Regions from separate parts of the Homo sapiens genome. Here region 2 is linked to region 1. The links are contacts of gene promoters, found by promoter capture Hi-C in human tissues and cell types (Jung and others, 2019). All regions are on one chromosome and are shown on one strand. Each heading gives the region's core, a stretch centred on a gene start or on the middle of the fragment in contact. The rest is flanking DNA. Distances are from core to core; before and after follow the strand shown.

Evidence for each region. Contacts are between HindIII fragments. The study calls those that stand out against the background at their distance.
Region 2: a contact is called between a fragment that was not itself captured here and the fragment with the promoter of TGFB2 in region 1, in 1 of the 25 tissues and cell types used here (thymus).

The regions. Positions count from the first base shown.
Region 1 is chr1:218,342,262-218,347,511 of GRCh38, forward strand. TGFB2 (transforming growth factor beta 2) reads left to right here and starts at 3,075. Exons shown (of 7, transcript NM_003238.6): 1 at 3,075-4,786. The coding sequence starts at 4,441. TGFB2-AS1 (TGFB2 antisense RNA 1) reads right to left here and starts at 3,417. Exons shown (of 3, transcript NR_046268.1): 1 at 3,342-3,417; 2 at 2,914-3,127; 3 at 1,935-2,201. RefSeq lists a silencer at 3,003-3,062 and enhancers at 3,443-3,492, 4,624-5,124. The HindIII fragment of the contact is 13,667 bases long and covers 345-5,250 here.
Region 2 is chr1:219,793,765-219,799,014 of GRCh38, forward strand. It overlaps LOC105372926 (a long non-coding RNA gene), which reads right to left. Exons shown (of 6, transcript XR_001738473.2): 3 at 3,488-3,534; 4 at 1-1,813. Among named protein-coding and RNA genes, the nearest start is that of SLC30A10, 130 kb to the right of the region's middle. RefSeq lists an enhancer at 576-725. The HindIII fragment of the contact is 6,787 bases long and covers 1-5,250 here.

The DNA.
Region 1 (5,250 bases), core at 1,825-4,324:
CTCTTGTAGAAATCCCACATTACTTAAGTGAATAGACCCATTGATGAGTGGAGAATGGCTAAGAGTGGAAACAGCTCCACTCTCTACCTCTGTAATTTCAAAACAAAAGATTCCATTTGAGGGCTTTAATAAGAGACTTTAATCGTGAATGCTTAACTGAACTTTGATAGTCATTTAGCATTTTATTCACCAAAAGTGTATTTTCTTGTCCTTCCCTCCTATAATTACTGGGGGCAAAATACCATAATATTTAAAATGTGCCTACAGAAACTACTAGGAGGCAGAACTAGAAGCAAATTCTTCTTGGGTTCTTTCCTGGCTTTTCAGAGAGAGCGAGAGAGAGAGAGAGAGAAGGCCAGATATTTTTATTATAAATTCCTTGACAGAAATAAAGACATGATAGGATAAGAAACTCACAGAGTCAGTGAGTAACTTGTTCAGGATCACAAAGCCAGAAAGTGACAGAAATCTGAACCCAAAAAACCATGACTGGAGCCTGCCCTTTAAACCACTGTGCTCTCCTGCCTCCTTGAAGTAATCAAGATGGGTGTATATCATTTAAATACCCTTTTACCATGAAGACTGTAGAGACCCCGGCACATAAGACCTCCATTAAATATAGAGATGAAAAGGCATTATAAGAGCCATTTAATAGAAGAAATGATTCATTTACGGTTACCAGGGAGACAGCTCTAGCAATCTTGCCGGTTAGGTCTTCAAAGAACTGATCATTTGAGAGGTGGAAAGGGGCTCCTCCTCTCCTGCTATACTCACTTACTGCACTTACCCATTCCAGAAGCTTTTACCAATACCTCCCGTCTTACCCTCCTGGGCTTTGGGGAAATTAAAGTAGCCTCTTATGAGTAAGTCAGGGGTCTCAGGTCTAAGGAGTTGTTAAGTGAGCAATAGGTACTCAGTAAACTAAGTATTATGAACAAAAGTGTGTATGTCTATGTCAGGAAGAGGGGTGGCCATCAGAATTTATGGCTTGCGCTGTTTTCCTAGAAGTGATGTAAATGAACTTTTGCTACTCTATCCACACTCTAATCTGAATCTACTTAAGGTGCATCAGTGTCTGTACCAAGAAGGTTGTCTATAAACATGAAAGATGCTCACTGGCTTGTGGAAGCTGAACCTGTATCCTCAGCAAAATACAGTGATAGCTAATTCAGGTAACCAGCCATATTCCACAGCAGCATCTTCTCTCAGTAGCTCTGGTTTGGAGCTCCTGCTCTGTGTCTATAATGGCCACAGGTGTAAGAATATTCACTTTTTGTCCAATCTGTAGAGCTAGCCTACTGCAGTTCTCAAACTGAACTCAGAGGGAGGACCTAACTGGATGAAACTACTAGTCTGACAGTAGCGCCTCTTGATTATCTTTTTCTTGGGCTACTGGGATGGTAGCTTTGCTTCAACTCAAAACTGGTATCAAGGAAAGGAACCTGCTGGTGCTGATTTATACATAATTTTTAGAATTATTCAGAAGTGGGTTGGAACAATTATTTTATTCCAGAGTTTTTCAATGTGTGATAATGGAAAAAATTCTGTATTCAAGGGAGTTTGGAAAATGCTGGGTTAAAAGAGTGAAAAGGTTTTCTCTTCTACAGGAGTTTCAGAGCCTTTAACATGATAATGTTCCAGAATGAGGAATCTAAGAGGACAGGAGAGTACCCAGTATCTCCCAAACTTGTTTGACTCCAGAATTCCTGTTTGTCAGAACATATTCTGGGACCATTGTTTCTCAGAAGTACATAGTAGGTAAGAACATAGTGGATCCTGACTGCAAAAATCCAGCTCTACCACTTACTGTGGTCTCGAACAAAGTACTTAACTTCTTTGTACCTCAGTCTCCTCATCTGCCAGATATGGATAATAAGACCCACTTTATAGGTTCATAGTGAAGATTAAATGACCATACACAACACACATCAAATTACTAAGTGTAGTATATGTTAGCTATTATTATTTTATTTATTCAGTGCTCTACTAATAACCTAGGCCCCATACACAACTGAAGTATAAATTCCAAAAGTGATAGAAAGTTCTTTGTGACTTTTCTGAACTCAGGAACATCTGAAGTAGAGAACAGTATAGAGATCTTGGGTTTGGGAGTACATTCAACAGAGTTTCCAGTTTAAATCATCTGTCTGGTCAGTATGGCTGCAGAGTCATGCCGAAATGAAAATGTTGACTTTGAGTAACTAAAGGTAAAATAAAAGAAAAAGGGAAGGTGGAACAGTGGTAAGAGTTATTCTTGTATTCATCTAATTTAGACTTAGTTGAAATTGAAAATGTCAAGTTATGAGTAGTGTAGAACAGTAGACATCAAACACTTAAAATTCCAGCTTCCTGGATTAATGCTATGGAAAGAATGAAGTTGGTTGATAATGTTTAGCCTAGCAAGAAGGTGAAGAAGAAAGCCATACAAGAAGTGGCTTAGGCAGCAAATTATAAAGGTGACCATTCATTCAAATCAGTAAAACAAACAAGTATACCTTATTCTTTAGGTAAAATTGATGGATCTCTGTTTTCCAGCAGTTCACAAACAGAGGGGTACATTGTAAACAACAAACTAACAAAATAAATTCTGGGATGGCAACCTGCTAAGGTATCCCAGAAAATAAGAGGTAGGACATGAATTTAAAAGATTGGAAGGTATGTCTTCAGTACTGGCCTGGCCCTGAGTAGACTAGTGCTCCCTCCCATAGGGGTGCGTGTGCACACATAATACAGGAGGGAAGCCTTCCCTTCTAGAGCAAGTGATTCAGCTTGGGAGGCTGTGACTGAGCTACACTAAGTAAAAACGGGAGACTTGATTGTCCTTCCTTCAACAGACCTGTCCAAAATGACTGGAAAGTAAATACCGTAAATCACTGTTGTCAGGGCGCACATTCCACCTCCTTCCTCCCTTACCCACAGCGGTCCTCATTTCCACACTCCCTCAACGGTTCGGGGAGAGCTCGTGGTCTAAGTAACGAGAGGACTTCTGACTGTAATCCTAGCACGTCACTTTGTTGAAGGCAGACACGTGGTTCAGAGAGAACTTATAAATCTCCCCTCCCCGGCAAGATCGTGATGTTATCTGCTGGCAGCAGAAGGTTCGCTCCGAGCGGAGCTCCAGAAGCTCCTGACAAGAGAAAGACAGATTGAGATAGAGATAGAAAGAGAAAGAGAGAAAGAGACAGCAGAGCGAGAGCGCAAGTGAAAGAGGCAGGGGAGGGGGATGGAGAATATTAGCCTGACGGTCTAGGGAGTCATCCAGGAACAAACTGAGGGGCTGCCCGGCTGCAGACAGGAGGAGACAGAGAGGATCTATTTTAGGGTGGCAAGTGCCTACCTACCCTAAGCGAGCAATTCCACGTTGGGGAGAAGCCAGCAGAGGTTGGGAAAGGGTGGGAGTCCAAGGGAGCCCCTGCGCAACCCCCTCAGGAATAAAACTCCCCAGCCAGGGTGTCGCAAGGGCTGCCGTTGTGATCCGCAGGGGGTGAACGCAACCGCGACGGCTGATCGTCTGTGGCTGGGTTGGCGTTTGGAGCAAGAGAAGGAGGAGCAGGAGAAGGAGGGAGCTGGAGGCTGGAAGCGTTTGCAAGCGGCGGCGGCAGCAACGTGGAGTAACCAAGCGGGTCAGCGCGCGCCCGCCAGGGTGTAGGCCACGGAGCGCAGCTCCCAGAGCAGGATCCGCGCCGCCTCAGCAGCCTCTGCGGCCCCTGCGGCACCCGACCGAGTACCGAGCGCCCTGCGAAGCGCACCCTCCTCCCCGCGGTGCGCTGGGCTCGCCCCCAGCGCGCGCACACGCACACACACACACACACACACACACGCACGCACACACGTGTGCGCTTCTCTGCTCCGGAGCTGCTGCTGCTCCTGCTCTCAGCGCCGCAGTGGAAGGCAGGACCGAACCGCTCCTTCTTTAAATATATAAATTTCAGCCCAGGTCAGCCTCGGCGGCCCCCCTCACCGCGCTCCCGGCGCCCCTCCCGTCAGTTCGCCAGCTGCCAGCCCCGGGACCTTTTCATCTCTTCCCTTTTGGCCGGAGGAGCCGAGTTCAGATCCGCCACTCCGCACCCGAGACTGACACACTGAACTCCACTTCCTCCTCTTAAATTTATTTCTACTTAATAGCCACTCGTCTCTTTTTTTCCCCATCTCATTGCTCCAAGAATTTTTTTCTTCTTACTCGCCAAAGTCAGGGTTCCCTCTGCCCGTCCCGTATTAATATTTCCACTTTTGGAACTACTGGCCTTTTCTTTTTAAAGGAATTCAAGCAGGATACGTTTTTCTGTTGGGCATTGACTAGATTGTTTGCAAAAGTTTCGCATCAAAAACAACAACAACAAAAAACCAAACAACTCTCCTTGATCTATACTTTGAGAATTGTTGATTTCTTTTTTTTATTCTGACTTTTAAAAACAACTTTTTTTTCCACTTTTTTAAAAAATGCACTACTGTGTGCTGAGCGCTTTTCTGATCCTGCATCTGGTCACGGTCGCGCTCAGCCTGTCTACCTGCAGCACACTCGATATGGACCAGTTCATGCGCAAGAGGATCGAGGCGATCCGCGGGCAGATCCTGAGCAAGCTGAAGCTCACCAGTCCCCCAGAAGACTATCCTGAGCCCGAGGAAGTCCCCCCGGAGGTGATTTCCATCTACAACAGCACCAGGGACTTGCTCCAGGAGAAGGCGAGCCGGAGGGCGGCCGCCTGCGAGCGCGAGAGGAGCGACGAAGAGTACTACGCCAAGGAGGTTTACAAAATAGACATGCCGCCCTTCTTCCCCTCCGAAAGTAAGTACTTATTTTGACTTCCATCCCCTGAGGTTTAGCTCTGCCCGGAGCTCTCAAAACCGCAGCAGCTCCCGGGATCGCCCTTCCCTCTCGCGGTTCCCGTTCGCTCTTTTCCCGTTCTCCTGTCCTTCACCCCACCACCTCCTTTTCAGTTGTATGCTTGAGGCCATCAGGCTTTAAAATGTTTACTTTCTACTTTATTTTCTCCATCTTTCCCTTCCCCCTAACAATTCGGTGCTTTAAAAGGCGTTATTCTCTTTTTCTCTTCCCTGAAGTTCTTTAGTCGGCCACCAGCTAGGAGTCAGCCCCACTCTGTCAAACTAGAGGTGCTCCCAGGGGCAGAGTTAAACTGAGGAATCTTGGTAGGTTTGTTTTCTTTGCTCCGATTGGCGTGGAGCGCGCCGAACTGGTGCACGAAGGGTTAAAAAAAGTGTCTCAAAACTAGCCTCTCCGGAAGGCGCCCC
Region 2 (5,250 bases), core at 743-3,242, 1.5 Mb after region 1:
TGCAAACATTCTGGGGCAGTAGCCTATCAAACAAAGTTTATCACAAAATAGCTTTAATTCAGTCATTGTTGAGTGACTGCTGAATGCAAAGCACTTTTACCATACCTGTTCCACCCTCACTTGTGAGCATCAGCCTTGCTGTCCTTCAGTTTTACAGTAAACCCTGCATCCAGAGGCCTCCCCTCCTCAGACACCATCGTAATTCCTAGTTATGGGAGATAAGGAAGGCTTTCCTTATGGGGCTCAATTTAAACTCTCAATGCTGGCTCACAGACCAGCCCCTACAGATTCCCCTATCTTACCTTCCTCTGACGTGAAATCTTCCAGGTGTAGGTTAAGGAGCCCTAATCCCACATTGCCTATGGATTAACCCAGGAAAGAAGACATCATAACCCTAAATGAAGTACATTAATTTTTTTAATCTGTTGCAGCCTTTAATCAATTTCATTCACTTGCCTTGCCCTAACCTAACTTCCTCTCCTGGGATGTGTCAGCAAGGCTCATTACTAAGAAACGCCAGCGTCACCCACACCACGATCTTGTGACTTCAGCACCTCCGATTCCATGAGCAAACCTCAGCTGTTCCAAAGTGAAAGAGTATTTCACCTCTCCCAAGAGGCTGGGTCCAAATCATGCTACCGACTTCAAAGAGGAGGAGAGATGTGAGGGAAGAAGGAAGATCCCCTCATTGAGGCAGAGGAGCAACCTCAGGTCCTCTGACACCCAGAGGAGGTGCACAGCTACATTTACTCTGGTATCTCCAGACCACAGGTGCAGCACGGCTCACATGTGCAATGAATTCAGCATGTGATTTGGGTAGAGTGTGGGAGTGGATGCTCACACGTGCAGCCACTGAAGCCTGGGCTGTGCTCAGTGAGGCGAGAAGAGGGGAACTGAGGTCTATCAAGATCCATTAATTCATATGATCATTGTCCTAGCTGGTCAGGCTGGATTGAATTCACAGCAGGGTGGCCTCATGGCCCAGGGTAGGGACCACAAAAAGTTTTAATTGCTGATAAAACAAATAGAACAAAACTTTAAAATACAATTTTCTGCTCCCTCAACCCCCGGCCCCACCCCATGTCTTTAACCTGTGATCGAAAGGATATTAAGATCTTGGGTGTATCAACAGTCCAGAGGACAAGAAGGAAAATCCTGGGATGTGAAATATTCTGCAACAAGGAAAGCAACTGGAGAGGCGACTAAATTCACTGCAGCTGTTCTGCCCTCCTCTTTTTTTCTCTCGCTCCCTCTGTCTCTTTCCTGGAAGTCCCCTAGTAAGAAGTAAAAGAGATAATGGCTTTGGAGTGCATGTTTTTCCTGGAATTGGAAGGAATTTTAACAAAGGAGCCCTTCAGAATGAACCCCCCACCCCTGCTTTTCACCTGAAGTAGGACAAGATTGGTGCCCCCAACATCATTCTCCATGTGGCCCCAGGTTGGGTTGGGGGGTGAACACTACTGATAAGCTCTTAGCAATTTCCCTATTTGTGGACTCCGAAGCTCCTTAGCTTGACAACTGATGAATAAGTTTTCTTTTGTGGGATAAGAGTAGATGACCTTTTCCCCCTGAATTCCCATCCTGGGGCCGGGGAAGAGAGCCCAGGATCCCTTCTCTTGGCCTTCACACCGTGGGAAAGAGTACCTAGAGTTAAAAGCCTGATAAATGCCCTCGAACAGCTTTGAAAATCACTCAGCGTGAGCGCTTGCCTCCTGAACAAATGTCCAAGTTGTATCACTACGGGAATGGCTCTCGGGTCACAGACACAGAGGTGATTCTCTTTGTAAATAGATTCATGCCACTTGTCTCCTTTCTGAAAACAGTTTCAAAAGAATTATTTGGTGAAGTCAGTTTCCTAGGAGAATCCATCACACTTCCCCAGAGATATTTCCACCCTTACAAACCATTAGATAAACTTAAAGAACAAATTAGTCCTCGTGGTAGGCCACCCCCACCCTATCTCCAGTTCACCACTTCAATCATGCTAGTTTTTCAGTGGATTTGAAGCCAAGCTTTCACATCAGAGCCCTCCAACCAAGAGCCTGAGTGTATAACTCATAAGAACAATCAAGTAACAACGTTTTTCTTTCCATTCCTCACATCTGGTATCCGCTGCCTTGTGAATGGGGTGCCCCTCAGCAGGAAGGGTTAGAGCTAGGGTAAGTGTGTAGGGAGTAAGCCTTGAAAAGAAAGAGGTGGGGAAAGAGCAGCAAAATCAGGACTGTCCCAGGAAGTGACTGTCAGTCAAGGGTTCCGAAATCCCTCAAATAGCTACTTCTGCTGTCTTGGTTTTGTCCATCTCTCCTCTTTTTTTACATACCTGCCACCCTAAAAACTACGAGCTATGCCTAACGTAGCGCTAACCAGTTAAAGAACTGCTGGTAACTTTAGAAAAGAGTCCATTCCCCATCAGAATCAGAACAAAATCTTTTTTAAAAAAAATTATTTTTGGCCAGTCATTGTTGCTCACACCTGTAATCCTGGCACTTTGGGGGGCTGAGGTGGTCAGATCGCTTGAAGTCAGGAGTTCAAGACCAGCCTGACCAAAATGGTGAAACCCTGTCTCTACTAAAAAATCAGTTGGACATGGTGGCACATGTGTATAATCCCAGCTACTCAGGAGCCTGAGGCATAAGAATCACTTGAACTCAGGAGGCAGAAGGTGCAGTGAGCCAAGATTGTGCCACTACACACCAGCCTGGGTGACACAGCAAGACTCTGTCTCAAAAAATAATAATTATATATATATATATATATATTTAGGCCAGGGGCAGTGGCTTATGCCTGTAATTTTAACATTTTGGGAGGCAGAGGCTGGAGGATCACTTTACCTAGGAGTTTGAGACCAGCCTGGGCAACATAGTGAGATCTTGTCTCTACAAAAAAATTTTTAAATTAGTCAGGCGTGGTGGTGCATACCTATAGTCCCAGCTACTTAGGAGGCTGGGGCAAGAGAATCCTGCTGCTGCATTTTGTGCTACTGCACTCCAGCCTGGGCAACAGAGTGAGACCCTATCTCAAAAAAAAAAAAAAAAAAAAAAAAGAAATAAAAAGAAAAAGAAATACATATATATATTTTAAGATCCATTTTAGAGTTGCAACACAATTAGGAGGAAGGTACAGAAAGGTCCCATATAGCTCCTGCTCCCACACATGTATAGTCTCCTCCATTATCCACACCCCTGGACAGAATGGAATATTTGTTACAATTGATGAACCTACATAGACACATCATTGTCACTTGAGGTCCATAGTTTGCATTAGGGTTCATTCTGGGTGTTTTCTATTCTACAGGTTTGGACAAATGTATAATGACATGCATCCACCAATATAGTATGATTCAGAGAGTTTCCACTGAATAAAATCTATTTTTATTAAGTTGGCATACAATAAATGAATTAAGCATCATAACAGCACAGTGTAGTGGGGAAAGCTGAGACTCTGGAGTCAAGCAAGCCAGGATTCATGCTCTGCTTCTATTACTTACATTGTTGTGGTTAAGGCAGGTTACTCTCTGAGATTCTGTTTTCTCCTCTGTAACATTAGAATGATTATACTTACATGAGTCAATAAGAATAAAATGAGAAAAAATGAAATAACAAAAGTTAACACACTTGGTACAATGTCATAATAAATAGCAGCTAGCTACTCCCATCCTTGATGTATATCCAACCATAACTGCGATCCCATCATTAACAGGTTCTGACATTTTTGACTTGTCTTCATTATTTTCTTGTTTATAATAAGTGGCAAACAATGTCAATAGCCAGCTCAGTTACCCATAATAGTTGCAATATTTAAGCAACACCAAAATAATATGTCAAATTATAAAGACAAATATCTCACACAAAATGGGAGAAAGAATTACTGGAAAGAAATGAGAGGTAAATTCATAACTTCCACAGTGCATTATCTGAGAGAAGAAAGTTTTGCTGTGATTTAAATCTTAATAGGTAATTTAAATATAGATGTATAACATTATAAAAGTGCATTTCATTGAGTTATAGAATTTCAGCATTGTTAAGTCCAAATCGTTATCAGATACATGAATATCATTAAAAATGCTTTTTACTTTAATTTACTCATTAGAGCACTTTTTGAAAAGGCTATTTAGGAATCCCTGAGTAAGCAAAATGGTCACAACCCAAGAATAAGAGGTTAGAAGTGATAAAGGGAGGTTATCTTCAGAGAATCCTCTCCATTTATAGGTACTAAGCTCTGAATGGGTACATAACACTATAATAAACCTTCAAAAGAGATGCGTTGGAAGAAACATACAAATTTAAATCTAGTAGTTGCTCACTAATGGGCCAAGGCAATTGGAGAGAGATGCTGTAATAAGAGATAAAGTTCAATCAGCTCCTTTAGTCCAGAATTTTTCAAAGCGTAATCCACAGTCCAACTGTACCTAAATCCTCTAGGGACAGAGAGTGATGGTGGTAGACACTGAAAATGCAATGTCTTAAACTCCATCCTAGAACTCTGAACAGAATCTTTGAAGATGGTTGTGAAATTAGCATTTCTCAAAGTCATTTTTAATAAATTCTGAATGTGAAACCAGACTTGAAATGTGAAAGGAAGTGAAAAGACAAAGCTGGATACTCATCATTGAAAAAGAGGCAAAGTAGATAATGTGCTAATGGAAAGAAAGAGGAAAAGGAAAATTCAGTCATCTTCATGTGATGTGTCATAACGTATCATTAAGAAAGCACCCATATGACTCATTCCCAACTAAACTGCATCTGAGAGAGTCTCACTCAAAATATTACCCTACTCTTCTAAAATGATTCCCAAAGTTTAGCCAAATTTAAAATGGAAGGCTGGAGGCAGGGAATATTTATTTTCTCTAATATATTGCTTTCACACTCAATGTCATATTTCTCTTAAGACTTGAAGGTCTTTAGAGAAAGAAAAGCCTAGTGGAAAACCAATATTGTTTTGTATTAATGCATCTTTCTAGAAAACAAATTAACTCACATTCAGTCACATAAAGATAAATTCTTCAGGAAAGATTGTCAAGAAATAATAGTAGGCTGGGCATGGTGACTCATGCCTGTAATCCTAGCACTTTGGAAGGCCAAGGCGGGTGGATCACTTGAGGCCAGGAGTTCAAGACAAGCCTGGACAAATGGCAAAACCCTGTCTCTACTAAAAATACAAAAAAACAATTAGCCAGGCATGGTGGCTAACACCTCTAATCCCAGCCACTCAGGAGGCTGAGGCAGAAGAATTGCTTGAACCTGGAATGCG